Linked DNA regions of Homo sapiens: region 2 is linked to region 1. Evidence: promoter capture Hi-C in 16 types of primary human blood cells and fetal thymus (Javierre and others, 2016). All regions are on one chromosome and are shown on one strand. The core of a region is centred on a gene start or on the middle of the fragment in contact, and the rest is flanking DNA. Distances in the headings are between cores, read along the strand shown.

Region 1 (4,056 bases), core at 468-2,967:
ATCTATGCTACTGCATTTAAAAAACGTATTGAGTAATTCACCCAAAGTAATTTTCCCTATAATGGAGCATTCCAAATTTTTAAGCAGAATAGAAAGAAAATAAAGCAAACACTTTAATTGGCTGCAGAGATATTCTTAAAAGATTATGACAAACCTCGGCCAGGCGTGGTGGCTCACGCCTGTAATCCCAGCATTTTGGGAGGCCGAGGTGGGTGGATCAGTTGAGGTCAAGAGTTCAAGACCAGCCTGGCCAATATAGCGAAACCCCATCTCTACTACAAATACAAAAAAATTAGCCAGGAGTGATGTCGGGCGCCTGTAATCCCAGCTACTCGGAAGGCTGAGGTAGGAGAACTTCTAGAACCCTAGGGGCGGAGGTTGCAGTGAGCAGAGATCACGCCATTGCACTCCAGCCTGGGCGACAGAGCCAGACTCCGCCTCAAAAAAAAAAAAAAAAGAAAAAAGAAAAAATATTATGACAAACCTCTATTTTTGCATTCTAACTACCTCATTCTTTTTCATTTAATATTACTGAGGAAGTTGATTCCAAACCTAATCATTATTCATTGAAAAACTAAAGAAAAAAAAACAAAAAACTAGTCATTTCATTTGCTTTCAGAAGCATAATAAAAATAAACATGAAGGGGGTTTCATGATTATTCAAATTTATAGACGGAATCTATAAAACATAACCAAAAATATTGTCCTGTGTGATATTACTTGCTCCTCTACATTCCAACTACTGGGGAATTAAAAATAAGTGTCATAAACAGTTTCTTAGACATCTTAAAATTCTATCCTGCAACTTTGACTTTATAATCCAACAGGAAGGAAAGTCTGAAGTATCAAAAAGAAAATTGACGTGAAGCACAAATCTATATAACCTAACTCTGACACTTTGAACAGAGCAAACATGTTTAGCTGCAATAACAACAACAATAAAACAACAATAATAAAGGTTTCAAAGTCCTGTGCAAAAACAAGCTGAGTCTTCCCTCTGGAAAATAGATAATTTAACAACTTTACAGAAGGACCTGACACCACAATACTCCCGTGCTAAATTATTCTCTTAAAGCACCTGCAAAGCAGAGTAATCTTTCACATCCAAAAGCCACTCCCTGCTCAAAACCACCCGCATCCAAGCCGAACCTGAGACCTCACCAGCTGCCCTACCTCCAGCGCGCTCTCCCCCGACCCCACAGCAGCCCCTCGCGGAGCTCTCCTCTGCTGTCTTCCTTTTTCTTTGCCAAGAACACCAGAAAAGGGGGTCCCTCCAGCTCGGCCGTCCAGACCCTTCCTCTGGCTCAGAGCAGTGGCGAGCCCATCCCAATTCCGCGCTTCCTTTGCAGGCCTCCCTCTGGCGTGGGGACCCTCCTGCTTTCCTATGCAAGTACTAACCAGGCCCGACCCTGCTTAGCTTCTGAGATGAGACGAGGTCGGGGGTGTTCAGGGTGGCACGGCCGTAGACCCTCTGGCTTTCCGCCGCTCCACCTGGCACTCCGAGAGCTAACGCCAGCGATGGAGTCCGCGCCACCCCTGCCCCGAGGCCTCTGCCCCAACTGCGTGGCCGCTCAACTCTCCGCTTCCTCCCGCCCGCCTCTCCACCCCACCCCGCCCCTGGCCCTGTACCTGGAGCTCCAGGCCAGGTACAGCTGGCCTGCCCACGCCAGCTTCCCAGCTGATGCCTGGCGCTGAGCAGCAGTCTGACATGGAGAAGGCGGAGTCCTTCCGGGGTCAGGAGTGCGAAGGTGGAGAGAAAGTGGAGGGGGCCTTCCAGGCTTTCTGCGTGAGGGACTACGTGTGAAGCAGCTCCCGCCATTTTTGTTTAGGGTAGAGGCTCCTTCCTCGTCAAGTGGATGCAAAAACTATATTCGAAGAATTGCATCCTTTTACAAACCGGTAAAAAAAAAAAAAAAAAACTAGTATTGTAGTTCGTAACCTGTCGGGGGATCTAGAACGGTTGTCAATCTGGTAAAAATTATGGAGGGTTTCCCCTGGAAAAAAAAAAATGTGTATACACATGCTCATTACATTAAAGAAAAAAAAGTTACACAATTTCAAAACCCTGAAAACAAGATTAAGAACTTCTACCACAGGCCCTCAGCCCTCAGATGAATGAGTGTTAAGAGGCATTCCAATCCGGTATAGATGATGCATTTATTATTGATTTCATGTCCTCTTTACCTTTTTTTCTGTGTTTCCCACTGAATTAGGCAACCGAAGAATATTGAATGTGGCAATTTATTGGCAGAGTAGTCACCTCTCTCAGGTTCTAATACATAGTAAACTAATAGGGGGCCGGGTTAGGAAAAAATAACAACAACAAAACCCAAGGTACTGTTTCTACGTTCAGTCTTCAGTCAAAACATTCCATCAGAACTGCAGATTTAGGCGGGGCACGGTGGCTGAAGCCTGTAATCCCAGCACTTTGGCGGGCCAAGGCGGGCAGATCACTTGAGGTCAGGAGTTCAAGACCAGCCTGGCCAACATGGCGAAACCCCATCTCTACTAAAAGTACAAAAATTAGCCAGGCACCTGCCTGTAATCCCAGCTACTCGGGAGGCTGAGGCAGGAAAATCGCTTGAACCCGGGAGGCGGAGGTTGTGTGAGCCCAGATAGTGCTACTGCACCCCAACCTGGGTGACTAGAGTGAGACTCTGTCTCAAAACAAAAAACAAAACAAAACAAAACAAAACAAAAAAACTGCAGATTTAAGAATTCCAGTTGCTGAGCATATTTGTGGTGAAAAGCCAAAATAATTCTGTTTTCAAAATTCCCATTTAACCAAATGGAAAATAGAATAGTAGTACCAATTTATGATATTATTAGATTAATAATAACTAACGATCCACAGACTGGGTTTTATGTGAAAATATTTTGCACTTATAGGGTAAATGGAGCTCTTGAGACTTGAAGAACCTGAAATTTGTAAGGCTATTTTCATTTATTTTCCCAATTTCCTCCTCTTTCCCATTTCCCACAGCTTCCAAACATTCAACGTAATGAGAATAGCAGTAATGATGATGACTACCACTCAACACAACTTTCCTGAGACCATATTATCTCCTTAATTCCACAATAAACATTATGAGAAAAATAGTATTACACGGTGGGTACAGAGTTTATTCTTTAGCATGAGAATAAGATATGTCACATTTAGGCCAAGTGAGGTGGCTCACATCTGTAATCCCAACACTTTGTGGGGCCGATGAGGGAGGATCCCTTGAGGTAAGAAGTTCGAGATTAGCCTGGGCAATAGCAAGACCCTCATTTCTACAAAATAATAATAAAATATATAAAATAGAAATATCACATTTAATTTATGTTTATAAACCAAATGTAATTTGCTGTAAGCCTCCCTTCTTCTGGTTTGGCAGAGTACTGCACTCAATCTTAGCCATTATTGGATATATTAGTTAACATATTCGCTACAAGTAAAAGAAAACCAAACAAGTAGTGGTTTAAACCAGAAGGACAGGGGACTCAATGTCTTCTGATATTGGAGACAAGGAAAAAAAAATTGGAGCCTGGATTAATTCTGAAGGCCAGTACCTCCCCCAGATAACCAAGCCATCGTGTAATGCTCACTAAACCAGAGAATGGAGTTCATGGAGTACTACCAGTTGTTTCTTCTGTACAAGTACTGCAATACATGCTACAGCAACCATTAATGAATTTAGGGGATCCTATCTGCATAATATCAAAACAAAACTGTGAAGTCAGACTGCCTGGGTTTGAATCCTTTCTTGGCCACTTACTAGATGCATTGTTAAAGGAAAAGAAACACAAAGCTATTTTTCTGTAGTTTCAACACTTCTGACTCCAAATGTGTGGAGGTTTTTCCCCACCAAACAAGTCTCCAATTATTTCTTATTATAAACTCCACTCTTTAATTTAGTGTCTACCAACTGGGTGTTGTACAGTTAAATTTAATTCAATACTATGCACCAAACCCTTAAGGGCTCAGTCCTACAAGACTGCCCCCACTTCAGATACCAATTGCAAATCCCAGGTTGTCACTTGTACTTCTGACCAACCAGCTATAAATCAGGAATT
Region 2 (3,875 bases), core at 1-2,500, 7.4 Mb after region 1:
AGCGATTCTCCTGCCTCAGCTTCCCGAGTAGCTGAGATTACCCGCCACCATGCCCAGCTAATTTATTTATTTTTAGTAGAGATGGGGTTTCACCATGTTGGCCAGGCTGGGCTCGAACTCCTGTCCTCAGGTGATCCACCCGCCTCAGCCTCCCAAAGTGCTGGGATTACAGGCGTAAGCCACTGCACCCGGTCATGAGTTGTGTTCTTAATCACTAAGCCACAGTGCTTAAATGACGCAATAGGCTAAATTGTTACTAGCATTATTAGAGATAGCATAGTGTAGCTGAGTGCCTAGGAGTTGGTTCCTAAAGCAACCTCAAGTTTCTAAAGTTTGAATTCCATCTCCAATACTTACTAGTCTAAGGCTAGTTACTTAACTCCCTAAATCTCAGCTTCTTTATTGGGAAAAAATGAGAATTCGGTTCAGACTAGGGTTGTTGTTAGGATTAGATGAGACAATACATGTAATACACATGATATATACGAGCACGTATTTGGCATATAGTAGGTACTCAATAACTATTCATACAGCTACTGGAAACAATCTTAATTCTAGTCAAGTTATCAGACCCTTAATATTTTTTAAGCTGACTCCGTACTACATCTTTAAAATTTATGCTGCTAAAGGTAACTCAAAAAAGTTATGACCTTCGATTTTTAATTGCAAATTTGTCAAAATCACCTGAATTTCAGGCCAAATCTAAATGGCAAGCTGGACAAACGGCTCCTTCCAGTCCTGCTTATCAAAAGAAATACGATCACTGGACCATCCGATACAAAGCTGTGCTGCAAGAATTACAGTGTAGAAACATCTTTCGGTTGCCTTCCTAATTTATAAGTCATATTATAAATTACTTACATGCCTTTCAAATTCATAAGCCGTATCTCTTTTACCGCCCAACTGTGGACAGCCCCAGACAGACCCAGCTCACCGAGTGCTGGCCAGGCGCCCCTTGCTTGAACGTGGTGGACAGTGAGATGGGGGGCACTACAGCCCTGGAGGTCCATTGCTCTGGATCCTGGCCCACATGGATCGCCTGCGTGGCGAAATGTTGGAAGTGTGGCAGGAAACCTTGTGAGGAGGCGTCTTTTTCCTGCATGCTGAACCGCGAAAGAAGAAGAGAGGAAAAGAACACCGAAGATATAACCAGTCGAAGCCGGGTGTCCGGGGTTGGGAGAGACAGAAGGATCAGGCGAGAAGGAGCTAAAGCACGCAGGTAGAGCCGACGGCGAGCGCACTAAAGCGGCACACAGCGATTGTTGGGGTGGATTTTATTAGCGGGTCTGCAGTCTCACGATCACAGTGGGGCGGGACCAGCGCGGCCCATTGAGCGCAGGCCCGACGCGTCTCCCGCTCCTTATTGGCTGACAGCAGAGGCGTTGCCTGAAACGTCACCGCGACCGCCCCACCCAGTGCACAAAGCGGAGTGAAGCTGGAGTCCCTGGGTCCAAGTGGTGTTAGTCCCTGCGGGCGAAATTCCTGAGTACCCGTCCTGAGGAGGCTGCCATGCTGGCTCCTGAGAGCCACCCGGGCGTCTCTGTGACCTCAGGCCGGAGGTTCGCCCGAGACGTGGCGGAAAGCTGGCTTAGTGTTGAAACCGGGTAACTGTAAACAGACCACATAAATAGCCTTCTTTTACTGTGGTAGTTACCTCTGACCACCATCCTTTGCCCTGAGGGCGGTGCTAAAAGACGTAAGCCACAACGTGGAGGGTGGTTAAGAAAACAGTTGCCCAAGCCGCCCAGTTTGCAGCTTGGATTCTCATCAGTCACAGCTTGCGTTTTAGGTACACTGAACTCTGTAATGACCCAGTGCTTACGATGACGAAACGATGACTAGAAGTGAAGGTTAAATTGTTCGTAAGACATAACGAAGCTACTGTAGTGAGGACGTCTATGCACAACTCTGGCAGCTTCCTAAAAGTTAGTCAATCTTGAGCTTTTTCAAGCATCATTATCTTCTTTTAAAGTACAGAGAGAAACTCCCCCTAATGAGAAAGATAATGTGGCTTTGAAATACTTACTGGAGCCTAACATCCTTACACAAAATGCTTTTGCTTTTACACAACAGCAACATCCCTGCAGGAAAAAGGATTGTTTACCACTCACCTGCGCCCAGAGCCCTACTCTCAGAAGAATCACTGCTTTAAAACAAAAATCTCCCTGTTCCCTAAGCAATACAGACTTGACCTACTTACTATTGTGGCTGTTTTCTAGCACCAGGAAATTTGGGGATATTTCTGTTGTTGCAAAATATTCGCTAAAGATCTAAAACTTTATTAAACAAATTAAGAACAAGGAGAATAAGGAATAAACAGCTCTTAAAATTTACAGTTTGAAAGAAAGATATGAAGAGAAAGAATGAGGCAATTTGCTTTTCAAATTAGCTTTAGGGACATTTAACCCATTAAGCACTAGAGGAGTGGTGCTTGAGGGCCTACAAGCTTTTAGAATCCTACCAAACTTTGTATGGCTGGGGGAAAAAATGGATAGACTTCAAAACACTAATGTATATTAATACATATTTAATTAATATTTTTCTTTTAAAAATATAACATCAACTGCAACTCACCTCAATATTTATGTATAACTATAGGTGGGTATTTTTGTGTAATATGATATGGCATTTAGGGGCCAAAAGGGTCTAAAACAGTTCCAATTAGTTTTACCTCCTAATATTTGCTGACAAACCCTGAGTTGCATAAATACAGACATTTTATTTAGTGTACTGTAATAAAGAATCATTCAGAAGACAGCACTAGGCTGGGTGCATTGGCTAACGCCTATTAATCCCAGCACTTTGGGAGGCCGAGGTGGGCGAATCACCTGAAGTCAAGAGTTCGAGACCAGCCTGGCCAGCAGGGTGAAACCCCATCTCTACAAAAAACACAAAACTTAGCTGGGCGTAGTGGTGCACACCTGTAATCCCAGCTCCTTGGGAGCCTGAGACAGGAGAATCGCTTGAACCCAGGAGGCGGAGGTTGCAGTGAGCCGAGATCATGTCACTGCACTACAGCCTGGGCCACAGAGTGAGACTCCATCTCAAAAAAAAAAAAAAAAAAGATAGCACCCAATACAAATGCTATAAATCAGGCCTTTTTTACTCTCTTAAACTGAGAAAACTTTATTGGATGCAGCTTAATATGTATCAAGGATTTAAAATATCCCCTTTCTATGACTCAGCAATTTCTTTTGTAGAAAATTTTACTTGCAGGAATTTATCCTTTAGATATATTCTTAATATGTGTACAGAGATGAGCAAGGATGCTTTTTAAACCTACGTTACTATTTTTAATAGCAAAAGAGTGAAAAATGGCTTAATTATTCATTCTTAAAAGACTGGTTAACTGGTTATGATACTACTCTGTGATGGCTACAGTATGGCCAAGAAGCAGGAAGAGATTGAGATGTGCTGGTATGTCAGAGTCTCGCTCTGTTACCCAGGCTGGAGTGCAGTGGTGCCATTTCGAATCACTGCAACCTCTGCCTCCAGGTTTCAAGAGATTCTTCTGCCTCAGCCTCCCAAGTAGCTGGGACTACAGATGCAGCCACCATGTCTGGCTAATTTTTGTATTTTTAGTAGAGATGGGTTTCACCATGTTGGCCAGGCTGGCCTCGAACTCCTTGCCTCAAGTGATCCACCAGCCTTGGCCTCCCAAAGTGCTGGTATTACAGGCATGAGCCACCACACCTGGCCTATTGATCTCTAATATCTAAGACAGCAAAGCAAAGTAACGTATACATCATGCTTCCACTTTTTCAAAAGAATATATACTATGTTGCATTATTTTCAGACAGATATTTATGATTTCATATGTATAAAAATCCTTCTGGTCATAGAGACTATGGATCTGCAGTGGAAAGGTGATTTTC

What was found. Contacts are between HindIII fragments. The CHiCAGO score rates a contact against its expected background, and 5 or more counts as called.
Region 2: the fragment with the promoter of CTH here is called in contact with the fragment with the promoter of MIGA1 in region 1 in 1 of 17 cell types (total B cells); the score reaches 8.3 in total B cells.

Annotation. Positions count from the first base shown.
Region 1 is chr1:77,777,310-77,781,365 of GRCh38, reverse strand. MIGA1 (mitoguardin 1) reads right to left here and starts at 1,717. Exons shown (of 16, transcript NM_001416120.1): 1 at 1,630-1,717. It also overlaps the pseudogene RNA5SP21. RefSeq lists an enhancer at 1,741-1,830. The HindIII fragment of the contact is 6,952 bases long and covers 1-4,056 here.
Region 2 is chr1:70,408,643-70,412,517 of GRCh38, reverse strand. It overlaps CTH (cystathionine gamma-lyase), which reads right to left and starts at 1,250. Exons shown (of 12, transcript NM_001902.6): 1 at 935-1,250. The coding sequence starts at 1,102. RefSeq lists a silencer at 1,210-1,359 and an enhancer at 1,420-1,679. The HindIII fragment of the contact is 3,560 bases long and covers 1-2,448 here.